2 separate regions of the Homo sapiens genome follow, and region 2 is linked to region 1. Evidence: promoter capture Hi-C in human tissues and cell types (Jung and others, 2019). All regions are on one chromosome and are shown on one strand. The core of a region is centred on a gene start or on the middle of the fragment in contact, and the rest is flanking DNA. Distances in the headings are between cores, read along the strand shown.

Region 1 (7,162 bases), core at 3,209-5,708:
AAAATTAGCCGGGCATGGTCGCACATGCCTGTAATCCCAGCTACTCGAGAGGCTGAGGAAGGAGAATCGCTTGAACCCAGGAGGTGGAGGCCTCAGTGAGCCGAGATTGCACCACTGCACTCCAGCCTGGATGACAGAGCAAGACTCCATCTCAAAACAAACAAGCAAACAAAAAACAAGAAAAACCTTAGGCTTGGGGCAGACAACAGAAGCAGAGAGGTCAGAGAGGAGGAACAGATCCAAAAAAAAGGGAAGGAGGTGGAATCTCCAGGACTAGTCCCTACTCAAGTGAGTGAGGGAAGGGAGGGCAGGGGAGAAAGCAAACATCCCGGCTGAGCACAGGGTGATGCCATACCTGGCACCGAGGGAACAAAGGGCAGGGAGGGTGTGAGGAAGCTGAGTGTGAGGTGGAGGGGAGGGGTGTTCCAAGAGCTACCACGAGCAAGCTGTGCGTGGGACATGAACTGTGTGTTTGAGTGGGAGAGTTGTCCACAGAGAGATAGAAACTGGAGCCTACGATGGACAAGTTCTCCCAAGGCGAGCGCTCAGTCCAGTCTCTTCCCTGGATGGACCTCCCAATCCCTTGGGAAGTTTTTAGAAGCAGACAGGAACCTGGACTTCCCTGCCATCTCTTCCTACCAACCACAAAGAGATTCTGACTCAGAAAGGTAGCCTGAGGCCCTATATGTGACTGGGCTCTTACACTTACAAGAAAGGAAACCCAACTCAAACTGGCTGGAGCTGAAAGGACTCCTGTCACCGGGCTTCTGGCACAATTTGATTGAAGGGTTTCGGTGATGTCTTCAGGACTCAGTCACTCTCCACCTCTGTTTGCCTCCGTGTTGGCTTCATCCTCATTTATCAACAGTGGCAAGACACCTGCGGCAGCTCCAGCTCATCCCTTTAGAAAGCCCTTCCAAGGAAATAGCTGTAGCTCCCAGTCACTCCAGCCCAACTCTCACTGGCCTGAACTGGGCCACATGTCCTCTCTGACCTAGTCACAGTAGCCAGGGGAGATGAGAGAGGACAACTGGTGAGGTTACTTCCTATTCATATGCCAGGTATGGAGTTAACTCCACCAGAGCCATATGTCCTGGGGAGAAGAAAGTTCCCCAAAGGAAATTGAGTCACAGTTACTAGGAATAGGGGGACTAGGCTCAGGGCAAATAAAATGACAGGTGTTGGCTCCCCTGTGGCCTCTACAGGGGACCTGGAGCAGGTCCTGGCCATGGAAGCTTTCCATGGGGAAGAAATGGGAGAGGCAGGTCAAGAGCCATGGGCAGAAGAGCCAAGTAGAGGACAGAGGACCTGCGGCCTTCTGGAGGAGGGCTGACCTTCGCTTTTGTCATGGGGAGCAGAAGCTGAGTCTTTGGGGAAGCCTGAAAAGCTGGTGGGAGAGGCAGTGGAAGAGGCAGTGGGAGACAGCACAGTGGGGCCTCAGAGATGCCACGCTGGTAGTTTTGGTTTCAGGAAGGATTTTGATGCTGTCAAAGCCACAGTGGAGGAAGAGAAGTGGGGTTTGCTCAATAAAAACGGGCTGGGAGCAAATGACAGGATTTTAAGGTGTAGAAAACAGGAGAGAGAAGGGTGGCCTTCCTGGCAGAGGGTCTAGCAGGAGCAAAAAAGTGGAAAAACACAGAAAAGACTTGAAGAACAGTAGAGGCTGTATGCCTGGGGCATTTTTTCTTCATTTTTGTCTAGGTGTGTAACCAAGACCACAGTTTAAAATCAAAGTCTTTGGGTTAGCATTGGAGGCCCTCTTTCTTCTTACTGCAAACAAGAAAATCTATTTCCTGGTGTTTTTCTTGAGGCATCTGAATCCCCCCCCTTTCTTCTGGGAGCCCTGAAGCACCTTTTGTGGTCTTTACATGTTTTGTGGATTTTCGCTATTCTGCCTTTTGTGGCGGTTTTATGTGAACATGACTTGTCTTCCTTAATCAACTGTTTTTAAAGCTCCTGGAAGGCACTCTTTTCACCTCAGTGTCCCCAGGTCCTGGCCCCCACCTATGAAGAAAGAAGGGTTCAAGATAAGCCACATGAGGCTGTAACTTGTGCCTGGGGTAGACAATGCTCTACCTGAAAGAAAAATCTCCCAGGGCAAGAATTCTAAGCAGTGTGGGAAGAAGAAGAGGGATACCTGGGGATCAGGCCCCTCAACACAAGCTAACTCCTGCTGCTCACAAGCTGCTACTCTCAGCTGTCAGGTAGGGAAAAAATGGAGGTTAACTGTGATCCATTTGCTTTCTCTGGGATGGAAACTTCTTCCTGTTTCACAACTGGGAGCCCAGAGCTAGCTGTGTCTGAGATGGCCCTAGCAGCCATGAATTCCAAAGAAGGAGCCGATGCCCTTTATTGAGTGCCTGCCCTGTGCCAGCACTGTGTTCACTGCTTTACATACATTACCTCATTCAGTCCTTCCAGACGGGTAGATACTTTTATTATCAGCCCATCTTACAAATGAGAAAACTGAGCCTCCGAGATGTTCAGCAGCTTCCACATTGACAAAAGGGAGATTTACACCCAGGTTTCTCTGACTCCAGAGTCCCCCTGGAAGCTCCAGGGTTTGCAATGCTGGGGCCAGGTCAGGCTAGCGCAACACCCTCCTCTTTCAGTTCCCAATCACAAGGATGCTCCAGCTCCAAACTGTTTAGATTTCACTGCCTGAGCATTCCTGAGGGCCTCCAAAGTCCTGAAAGGGAAAAGATCAGTTTGCAGAATAAGGAGGGAATGAAACTAACTCCCCACCTCAGTTCCTCCATTCAGACTAGCCTGGGAGGGGAGTGGGGGAAGTCCAAAGTCCCTGAATTTCCTGGCCTGTACCTCCCAGTGCAGAAACTCTCCAACGCCCCCTGGTGTTCTTCAATACCATCCAAGTCTCCCAAGGATTCATTCCTCTGTAGAGTGGACTGGGACATCCCATCACAGGGATGGAGAAAACAGAGTGCCCTTGCCACTGAAGCCATCAGGAGAATCCTAGAACTGGAACTGGAACCCAGAGCTCCTGGCCACGGGCTCTTTCAGCAGCATCGCCTTCTATTCCTGTTGTCCTCCATAGTGGCTGACTGGCCCAGCAGTCAATGTTACCTTTATTACATATGATCTCAGTACTTACTATGTTACAAGTCCAATATGCACTATTAAGTGTGCCACACTTTATTAGAAGTGCAGTGACACTGTATTATATATCAAGTTCCATCAGGTCAATATAGAAAATGGGAAGTTTGTACTGGCATGCCTTGTTATTTTGAAATGGAATCCCAGCACCACTGCTGCCCCCACCTCCACTGCATATTTGAAAACCCAGTCTACTCTCCTCTGCCCGCTGTTCCAGGAAGACAGGCTTTCTCCCAAAAACTCAGTCCCACCACCTCATTCACAGGAATGTCAACAGGCACAAGGAGATAAAGTCTCTTGGGATACAAATGCTACTTAATGTGGGGGGTGGAGGAGGTGACAAGAGAAGAGAGAAAACTACCAAATGCCCTTCAGGCCACCAGTTTTTCTCTAGTGGAATATAGGAAATGACAACAGGAGAGAGCCTGGTTAGCCCTAAGCCTCCCGCAGGGATGGAACCTGAGTTTGTGTAGGAATTGCTCACCTTTGATGACTGGGATGATTGAGGCAGGCTGGTCTCACCACACAGGGATAGATGGCATGGGTCTCAGATTAATGGCAGGCAAGAAGGGGAGATGTCAGGACTGGCAGGCGGCCCCAATGAGCCACCTCTCAGATACCTGGAATAAGATCTCCTCCGTTTTCAGTGTCTCATACTACCTCAGGTCTTGGTCCTGAGAGGAAGGGCTGCCAGCTCTGCTGCCCCCTGGAGGGCTGACTTTTCACCCCAGAGTAAAGATGTGGTTGGCCGCCCGGCACTGGAGGAGCTGCAGATCTCAGGAGGTACAGAGCCCCCGGGGAGTCGGTTGTCGGGGGAGAAGGAAGGGGAAAGAGGTTGGGGGCTTGGGAGTAGAGGAGCGGTGGCTGAAGGGATCAGGTAGTCCTGATCAGGACGTGGAGATCCACCCACAAGCCCTGACAATAACTCAGTCGAGTTCCTGGAGGGTCTCAAGGGCTGGGAAAGGTGGAGTGGTGCCTGCCCCAACGCGTCCATGGAAGGTGGTGCCCGCCTCACCGCCTCCGTGGAAGGCCAAACGAGCCCTCGGTGTGAATCCGGAGAAAGAGAGGGAAGTGCAGCGCCAGCTCCACTCCACACCCCCTTCCTGCCTATAAATAACCCCAAGTGTCACTTCAAAGAGGACGGGGAGCGCGGCAGAGGGGCTCCCGGGCCGGCGGGCTGGGGCCGCCGGACCTGCTCACCACGCCCCCCACCCTGGGCGAGTTTGCATAAATAAACAAATCCAAGCCGTCGGCCCCGCGGGAGGTGGAGGAGGAGTGACGAGGAGGAGGAGGAGGAGGGAGGGGGGAGGGAGAGATTAGTTTGGGAAGTAGCACGGATTGCTCATCCGATCCGTGCCGCCGCAGGGAGTGTGTCAAGTTACAGAGGCGCCGGAATCGGCCCCTGCGCTCCTCGCCAGCCGCCACGACCCACCTCTGCCCATGGGGCCCTCCGTGTGCGCCCCTTCGCCCGGGGACTGAAACTGACTGGCCCGGGAGACACGAGGCGCCCAGAAGGACTGACAGCGCGGCACCAACTGCTCTGCAGACACTTGAAGGGAAAGACTGGGCGGAGAGAAGGAGAGCCGGTCAGATTCCCCTAACTTTCCTGGACTTGGAACGTTCTTCGAAATAACTTTTTTCTCACCTAGGTGTACCCCAATTACCGCTGGTTGTGCTTTTTCGGCACTTCCTCTCCTACTGCTAATTTTTCCGTCCTCTTTGCCGGGAGCAGCGGAAAGGGACGTTTTCCAGCGATACAAGCCCTTTCCCCCTGCCCCGCAGTTTGGATAGAGCCTTTTGGCAGCGGCTGTCGCCTTTATTTATTCTATTTATTTATTTATTGGTTCTCAAGACGCGAGAGGATGGTAGCGGAGCGCACCCACAAAGCGGCAGCCACCGGTGCCCGCGGCCCTGGGGAGTTGGGCGCGCCCGGGACGGTGGCTCTGGTGGCGGCGCGGGCGGAGCGCGGCGCACGGCTGCCGAGTCCAGGGTCGTGCGGGCTGCTGACGCTGGCCCTCTGCTCGCTGGCACTCAGCCTGCTCGCCCACTTTCGGACGGCCGAGCTGCAGGCCCGGGTGCTGCGCCTGGAAGCGGAGCGCGGGGAGCAGCAAATGGAGACGGCTATTTTGGGACGAGTCAATCAACTGCTGGACGAGGTCTGTGCTCTTTGTTGCTGGCTTTTATCCCTCCCCGCGGCGCCCCCTCGCGCAGCCTCCAGACTGTTCAGCCGGTGTCCGCGGGCGCTCGCTCTCTGCGAGCCCCAGGTTCGCGCGAGTTGCCTGCGGGAGGGGTCGGGGACACGGACAGACGCTGCCCTACCAGGGATTCGGAGGACCTGGTGGGCAAGAGCATGACCCAGCGACTCCCGCCTCGGGCAAGCGCCCCCGGCTTCCAGCGCTGGGAGCGCCCTGGGCACGCCGGGCAGGTGGAGGAAGGCTGGGCGCGCGGAGGCTCGCGGAGGCGGGCAAGCTCCACTCCTCCCTTTCGGGACCCGGCCAGGGTGGTGTGACAGCCGCCCCGCGCCCGCGCAGCGGCAAGCGCGCCCAGAGGCCCAGGCCGAGGCTTACTGAGCCCCCATGGCCCTCCCCCTCCACCCCTTAAGGACCCGGGGGGTGCGGGGAGAGGGGACAGTTCTTGCAGGGGGTGGTGCCCTGGTCTCTGCTCACTGGCCCAGGCCGCTAGGGTCCAAGTGTGGGTCGCCTGGCTCTGCTGTCCTTGGCCACAAATTAGTCCACACCTTCTTTTTCCTAAACCAGGTTTCTTATTTTTCTGGAGAAAGGATGCTTTCTTCCATTCTCCAAATTTTTTTGATCCAAGTAGATTAAACACTACTAGCGTGTCAGGTAGCTATGGCAATCTTCGGAATACAGGAAAAGGCTGTCCCCTCCCCAGGAAGGAGGGACATGCAGCCTCTTTGTGCCACCAGAGGAAAGGCTGGGCCTTGACAGGGTGAGGCTTGATGATCTGTGGGAATCTGGACAGCACAGGGGATTCAGGGCCCAGATAGAGAGGAGGACAGGCAGGTGGGGGCCGCAGCAGTCTGGGAAGAGGTCCTGGAGCAGGTCCTGGCCATGGAAGGTCCTGGCCATGGAAGGTTTCCATGGGGAAGAAATGGGAGAGGATATCTTACTTAGCTGGAGGGAGTGTGCAGCAGTAAAGATCACGGTGGTAGAGGCCAGCAACCCTGGGTTTTTATCCCCACTCTGCTACTTGGAAGCTTGGGACAAACGCTCCAACCCCTCTGAACATGCGAAACAGTGCTGATGTAGCAAACACTGGAGCACAGCTCTAACTGTGGTGGGTGGGGTGCTGTGAGCATTTTGGCAAGATGTACCTATTCCCTATAGCCAGGCTCTTCTCAGCTGCCCCTGCCAGGCTGGCACCTGCTGGAGCAGTTCTCCAGGGTGGCCAAGGAGGAGATTGCAGGGCCAGAGCAGAGAGAGCGGTCACAGGGCAAGCGTACTGGTGCTAGTGGTGCACCCATGACTGCTGCTGTCAGCTCATTCCCACGCCCTGCCAGGCTCCAGGGAATCCGGAGAACTCCATCGGGCCGTCCATGGTTCCCTGGGCCTGGGGTGGAGGTGCAGCATCTCTGGGCTCAGGCAGAATGAGCCCAGACTGGCTGGGTGGTGAAGAAGGTGTCAGGGCAGTGAGAGCTCCTCCAGGTATCTCGGGGGTCCTGGCTGCTGAGGGATAAGCATCTGATTTTCAGGGTTTAGCACAGCCCCTCTCTCCATGCTTTCCCCTTCCCAGACCTTCCTGCTGGCCTGACCATGCCCTGGCCTTTTCTAGCTTCTTGCTTCCACTGCTTCAGACTTAGACATGCCAAGTCGCATACTCTAGGGGCCTTGGGGCTAACTATTGTATCCGACATGCTCACTCCTTCCCTCCAAGCTGCAGCTCCATATTTACCCTACTGAATACAATCTTTTCAACTGCTAGATATGAAAGTTATCCCAGAGAGCATCTGAACTGAACCCCATTTTTCAGATGGGGAAGTTGAGCCCAGAGTCACATGGCGAGGCCCAGGACTAGAACCTCAGCCTCC
Region 2 (7,162 bases), core at 2,292-4,791, 86 kb before region 1:
CCTACCCTCTCACCCACCCCTGCCCAGAGACACTGCCCTGACTCCCACACTGAGCCTGTCAGGGACCAGGGATTTATTCCTGTGGGCCGGCTTTTCGCCCTTTCTTTCCTGGGTTATTTATGTCCCTTGCCTTTTATCTCCCGCCCGGCTGGCCCGCAAGGCCCATTATGTCGCTTTGGCTGTGGCCGCATCAATCTCCAGCCCCGGGAGCCAGGCCCCCAGCCCATCTCATCATTTATTTTCCAGGTCTCCCTGATGCTCAGCCGGCAGCTGTCCTGGTGTGTGGATGGCCCTGGCTGGCGTCCTTCTCAGAGAGGACCATTGTTGGTGGGTCTTGGGACTGTCGGGTCAGATGGGCCACGGGCAGCTTGTCTGGGGCCTAGGAGTGCTGTGACCTTTCAGGAATTAGCATGGCAGTAGGGGCAGTGTTCTGGTTGTCAGGACTTCAGAGTCCCAGCCTGGACCCTGCCAGTGACTCCCTGGGTGATGTTAGACAAGGAGCAGTAACTAGATAGGACGATCCAGGTTGTAGCTTCCAGTGCTCCCAGATGTGTGACAAGTGCTTCCCAAACTATGTCTTATAAATGTGTGCTTTTTTTTTTTTTTTTTTTTTTTGAGACGGAGTCTCACTCTGTCGCCCAGGCTCTGGAGTGCAGTGTGGCTCACTGCAACCTCTGCTGCCTGGGTTCAAGCGATTCTCCTGCCTCAGCCTCCCGAGTAGCTGGGATTACAGGTGCCTGCCATCGTGCCTGGCTAAATTTTTTTTGTATTTTTAGTAGAGACGGAGTTTCACTGTGTTGGCCAGGATAGTCTCAATCTCCTGATCTCGTGATCTGCCCGCCTCAGCCTCCCAAAGTGCTGGCATTACAAGTGTGAGCCACCATGCCTGGCCGTGTCTTATAAATTAATAAACATTTATTAAAAAGTCAGAGACAATTCCATAACCAAAGTTTGGAAAACTCTAGCTTGAACAGAGGTGTCGTGAGTTGAATGGTGCTCCCCAAAAGGTATGTCCATGTCTTAACCCCAGGAACTTGTGAAAGTGACCTTATTTGGAAAGAGTGTACTCGGCAGATGTAATCCAGGGTCTCAAGATGAGATTACCCTGGATTTAGGGCGGGCCCCAATCCAATGATGAGTAAAAGGTGAGGGAGACCTGCAGGGTAGAGGGGCACGTAAGGAGTGAGGCAGAGACTGGAGTCATGCAGCCCCAAACCAAAAGATGCCTGGAGCCATCAGGAGCTGGAAGAGACAAGGGAGGATTCTCCTCTAGGGCCTTTTGAGGAAGGACAGTCCTACCCATTCCTTGATTTCAGATCTGTGGCCTCCAGAATGGTGAGAGATAAATTTCTGTTGTTTTTAGGCCATCACATTTGTGGTAATATGTTATGGCAGCCCTAGGAAGCTGATACAAGAGAGAAACAATGTTGTATGCTGCAGGACTTGTCAGGGCCTTTAGTAACAAATGTGCATTAGGAAGCACTAGGGCTGCAGCATAAAACTGTGACATGGGCCAGTCGCAGTGGCTCACACCTGTAATCCCAGCACTTTGAGAGGCCAAGGCGGGCGGATCACGAGGTCAGGAGATCGAGACCATCCTGGCCAACATGGTGAAACCCTGTCTCTATTAAAAATACAAAAAATTAGCGGGGCGTGGTGGCGGGCGCCTGTAGTCCCAGCTACTCAGAAGGCTGAGGCAGGAGAATGGCATGAACCCGGGAGGCGGAGCTGGCAGTAAGCTGAGATCGCGCCACTGCACTCTAGCCTGGGCGACAGAGCAAGACTCCGTCTCAAAACAAACAAACAAACAAACAAAAAAACAACTGTGACATGAAGCACTTGACTGGGGAGCTCCCCTCAGGACTTGTGTCTTAAAGAGCACATTTTGGGGGATGCTGACCTATGACTTGGTGGGAGAGGTTGGGGAAGAAGGGAAAGTGTGGGGGAACCTGCTTGGTCTAATCTTTTTGGAAATGAGGTGGGGGTCATGGAGTCCGGGGCTCTGTCCCAGATGCAATGAGGTGAGGGACTTAGGATCACAGGCAAAGGAAGTCACCTTGCAGCTCAATCCACTCCCAGAGGAAGTTTGGGTTAGAGGGGTACAGGGAGGAAGCAGCTGGAGGAATCCTCCCAGCACACCTTTCCAGCCTGCAGGCCAGGCCGCTGCCTGTCCTGAAATCCTCTCCCGCCTGCCAAGGACAGGGTGGTGGGGGCTCCTGCACCCTAGATGTCTCTATTCTGAAGAGCCAGGCTTGTTTGCAAGCCCAGGGAGCTAAGAGTTAACGATAATCACCATAATGATAATTCCAGGTATGATTTATTGAGAGATTACCCCTGCCAGAACCTGTGCTGAGTGCTTTATGCATATTAATTAATTAATTCATCACAACTGTATTAGCCCATCTTATAGGCGCAGAGATGGAGGCACAGAGAGGTTAAGTAGCTTGCTCCAAGTCACACAGCTAGTAAATGGGAGATCCAGGATTTAAATCCAGGTTGTCTGACAGCTCTCAACCATGAAGTCACACTACCTTCCCCCAGATGCAGGAACTCTAGGAGAGAATGCTCATTCATTCATTCACTCAATATTATTGCTTGCCTGCGCCCTGCCAATTGCTGGGCCAAGCCTTCAGGCCACAGCGCTGAGCCTGGGAATTCCGGGACCCAAAGAGTCCTTACACAGCATGGTGGGGAGGCAGCCAGGACACCGAAGATGGCAGTGATGGTAGTGCTGGGGACAATGGCCACAGGGTGTTGGTAGGGGCTTCCAATCCAGTCTCAGCGCTCAGGGACTGTGCCCTGGACTCAGTTTCTCTTTTGTTCACTGAACTAGGTATTCACGGGCAAATGGGGGTCAGCCCAAAGGAAGGGGGTTCAAGCTGAAAGACGTGAGAAGGCTTCATCCTGAAGCAGCACGCTGTCTTCCAGGAGCTGGGTCTACTTGGCCATAGCTAAGAGGATGGGATGGGGTTTGGGAATGGAGCCCTTACCCACAGCCTGCAAGGGAAGCAGGTGGTCCAGAAGTCTGAAGTAGGCACAGATGAGACACTCAGCCTCCAGTCTCCAGCATCACTCCCTCACACGAGGCTCTGCCGAATGACAATAGCTCCATTTATCCACACATTTTGCGCCAGACATTTTGCTAAGCGTGTTACATAAATGGCCTTCTTCAATCTTCACTGAAACTCCATGGGGTGCAGTTACTGCTAACTCCATTTAACACAGGAGAAATCAAGGCTCCTTGTGGTTGTGCTACTTGACTGTGCTGGGGGTTGCACGTGGTCTGTTGGACAGAGGCCTAGATTTAACCAGGGATGACATTCAACATGTTTCACAATAGGGGCTTTGGAGACTCTGACCCCTCAGTTAAGATGCCACCCAGAAGCTTGCTGGTGTGCACCGGCTGAACGTCAACTCTACTTGTAACCAAAGCAAGCACTTGGAATCATGCTGGGAATATAGTAAGCACCAGAAAAATGTAGCTATTCCTTTTCTTGTTTTCTTTATTAATCACCCTGTCTGGGACTATGGGGAAAGCGGGCCATTCTGTTCCATCTCTCCTCCCATTTTTTTTCTGGTATATTTTTCAAAGCTCTTATTTACAGGCTATTTTGCTGCTCAAGAATCTTCAATTGCTCCCCTTTGCCTACAGAGAAAACTCTAACTCCTCTGCCCAACAGTCACGGGTCCCCTTGGCTGGCTCCAAACTCCCTGTCCAGGTGGACTTCTGCCTGCTCTCTAAGGAGGTCCTTCTCCCCCAGGCTGCCTCTTCGCTGTGTCCCGATGCGCCATGTGCTTTCCTCCCCGGGGCCCTCACTGAGCCATGACCCCTCCTGAAATATCTCCTCACCCTCTTCACTGACCTGACTTCAAGGCTGCTGAAATTCTGCCTCCACCAAGAAGCCTTCTGAATACTCCGGCACTCAGAGGGCTCCCATTTTTAAATGTCCTGCAGCTCTCTCTGTTCTGCTAACACTTGTTCACGTGCCATGTGGCAACTATTTTTGGTCTGCTTCCCACAGCCCAATCACAAAATCAACCTCTTGGTGTCAGGAGTCAGCACTTCCCAAACTTTTATGTGCCGTGAATCACCTGGAGATCTTGTGAAGCTGCAGCTCCCGGGTGAGGAGGCGTGAGGTGGGGCCCAAGACCCCGCATTTCTAACAAGCTCCCAGGCGATGCTGTGTCCTGGGGCCACACTTGGAGCACAAGGGCTGAGCCATCCGGCAGAGCCTCTGTCCCTTGGTTCTCAGCCCTGGGACCTGAGAAAAATACTTCTCCTGGGCCCTACCTCCAGAATCTCTGCTTATTGGTGGAGAGCGAACCAGGTACTGGTGTGTTTACAGAGCTTTTCAGGTGACTGTGATGGGCAGCTAGGATAGAGCCACTGAGCTGGCACCGTCCCTCACCCCAACAGGTGTGCGTTTTTATGTGGTCCAGGATTCTCAGATTAGACCCTGTTGGAGGGCAGGAAGCTAGTTCCTTAGGCATGGGGCAGGCTGGGGCAGCCAGAGCCCTACAGTGTTTTTGTGGGTGGGTGCCCACTAACCACTAGGGAACTTTGAGGGGATAGAGAGAGAGCATCCTCCCTGCACGGTCCCAGCCAAAGGCATCTCTGAACCCACCGACACCATCCACCACAAGGCACAGACAGTTGACAACTCAGGAGGGACCAGGAGGGGAGTCTCAGGAGCGGTTTGGCCAGAAGCTCCCTCCTCCTGCCATTCGGCCTGGCTGGGCACCTGGGAACCAAGGACTCCCCTCCTGGCACCCAGGAAACCGCCACTGTGCCGAGTTAGAAGGCACAGGGCGCCCTCTGCTGGGAGGTTTGGGTTTGAGCATTTCTCCCCAGGGACTCAGGTAGAATGGGGTAAATCAGGGGAGGGCAGGGAGGGCTGTTCTGTGTCTCTTCTTTGTCTTCCTATTTCAGGGTCTGCAGAGCCAAAATCCAGTTTAGACGAAGGATCGCAGGTTGAGACTCTGAAGGGTGGGACGGATTTGCTCACGCAGCCAAATCACACTGAGGCTCTTTCTGCCCGTTTCACCTTTTCCTTCTCGTTATCATCACCGTCAGCACCGATCCACCTGCACTGGCTCAGGCTTCGAGGCAACAGGATTGAAAACACAGCTTTTGTTCTGTGTCTCCAAGAAGGCTCAGCTGCTCTGAGCACCCACAGTTCCTGATCTGGACTCCCTTGTGGTTTGTAACGCACTTGAGTCAATGTGGGGTCAGTGTTAGGAGCAGTGGTGATGAGAGTTAGAATTCAGTCTGGGGCTAGGACCAACGGGCATTCTTACAAAGTCAGGGATCAGACTGCATCCAGAGTCCAATCACCAGGTAAGCACCAGCAGGTAGGTCCGGCTCACTAAAGGCTATGGCCAAGCCTCTGGCCACAGTGAAGGAGGCCCGTGTCTGGGAGACCAAGGCAGAAGAAGAAGACCGAGAAAGCAGAACATGTCCCTGTTTCCTCCAGCTCCCCCAGGATGGCTGCTCTGAGCTTTCATGATGCTATGGGCCCGTAGTTCAGGGGTCAGCACGCAGTGCACCAATGGCCAGCCCTCTGGGCTTGACTCCATGGTGGGCCCACCCTGTGGCTCTCTCTCAGGGTGCAGTGTCTTACTGTAATATCTATCAACTTTGTCATAAATGCATGTTCTTGGCCCAGGGGAGGGTGAGCTATACCGAGGGGAAGGGGTCCAGCATTATTTTAGGGTGGAGAGTCAGCATGTGAACACGTGTGGTCATTGATGCTACTGTAGACCAGGGGCGTGAAACCTGGGGCCTGAGGGTGGGCGCCGCAGGCCACTGAGGGTCCACAAACCCACCTGGAATTGTGTGGGATTTGTGTGTGTCCAATTTTATGTGGTTTTCCATCAGATTCTCAAAGGACCATAACCAAAAATTAGTTTAGAATCCTTGCCTAGGCCTATTCTTCCCTTTATTTATTTACTTGGAGACAGGGTCTTGTTTGTTGCCCAGGCTAGAGTACAGTGGCACAATCACGGCTCACTGCAGCCTCGACCTTCCAGGCTCAATTGATCCTCCCACCTCAGCCACCTGAGTAGCTGGGACCACAGATACGCACTTCCACACCCGTTAATTTTTGTACTATTTCGTAGAAATGGGGCTTCACCATGTTGCCCAGGCTGGTCTTGAACTCCTGGGCTCAAGCAATCTTCCCACCTGGGTCTCTCAAATTGCTGGGATTACAGGCATGAGCCACTGCACCTCGCCCTTATCTTTTTAAAAAAACACTTTAAAAATAGCTTTATCGAGGTATAACTGATAGAGCATGAATTGCCTATATTTAAAGTGTTCAACTTAATAAAAAATGTTGACATATGTATACATTGTGAAACGATCACCACAATCAAGACAGTGAACATCCTTATCACCCTCAAAAGTTGATCTGCTTTCTGTCACTATAGATGAATTTGAATTTTTCTAGAATGTTCTATTAATGGATGCATACAGTGTATACTTTCTTGGGTCCAATTTCTTTTATTCTGCCTAATTAATTTGGTGGCCATCCACATTACTGTGTGTGTCAGCAGTTCATGGCTCTTTATCACTGAGTGGTGTTCCATTGTGTGGAAGGACCACAATTTGTATTTCCATTCATCTGCTGATGGACGTTTGAGTTGTTCCCAGTTTTTGGCTATTACAAAGAAAGCTGCTATGAGCATTCATGCACACATGGGCAAATGCTTTCATTTTTCTTGGGTGGAAAGAAGTTGTTAAACTGTTTTCTGTAATGGAATGTCATCTTACATTCTCTGCAGCAGCGTGTGTGAGTTCCAGTTGCTCCATGTGCTGGCCAACACTCACTAAAGTTAGTCTTTTTAAGCTATTTTTAGCCACTCTAGTGGGTGTTCAATTTGCATTTTCCTAATGACTAATGGTATTGAGCATCTTTTCACATGCTTATTTGTTATCCACATATCTTCTTTGGTGAAATGTCAGTTCAAATATTTTGCCCACTTAAAAAATTGGGTTCGGCCAGGCGCAGTGGCTCACAACTGTAATCCCAGCACTTTGGAAGGCTGAGGCAGATGGATCACCTGAGGTCAGGAGTTCAAGACCAGCCTGGCCATCATGATGAAACTCTGTCTCTCCAAAAATACAAAAATTAGCTGGGCATGATGGCTGGTGCCTGTAATC

What was found. The method cuts DNA at HindIII sites, captures the fragments that hold promoters and counts their contacts. A contact is called where the count stands out against the background at its distance.
Region 2: a fragment that was not itself captured here is called in contact with the fragment with the promoter of COL13A1 in region 1 in 2 of the 25 tissues and cell types used here (neural progenitor cells and pancreas).

What each region holds. Positions count from the first base shown.
Region 1 is chr10:69,797,448-69,804,609 of GRCh38, forward strand. COL13A1 (collagen type XIII alpha 1 chain) reads left to right here and starts at 4,459. Exons shown (of 41, transcript NM_001368882.1): 1 at 4,459-5,270. The coding sequence starts at 4,977. LOC124902444 (a long non-coding RNA gene) reads right to left here and starts at 4,324. Exons shown (of 2, transcript XR_007062179.1): 1 at 3,599-4,324; 2 at 2,416-2,689. The HindIII fragment of the contact is 11,372 bases long and covers 1-7,162 here.
Region 2 is chr10:69,712,325-69,719,486 of GRCh38, forward strand. No RefSeq gene overlaps it. Among named protein-coding and RNA genes, the nearest start is that of LINC02651, 31 kb to the left of the region's middle. The HindIII fragment of the contact is 9,757 bases long and covers 1-7,162 here.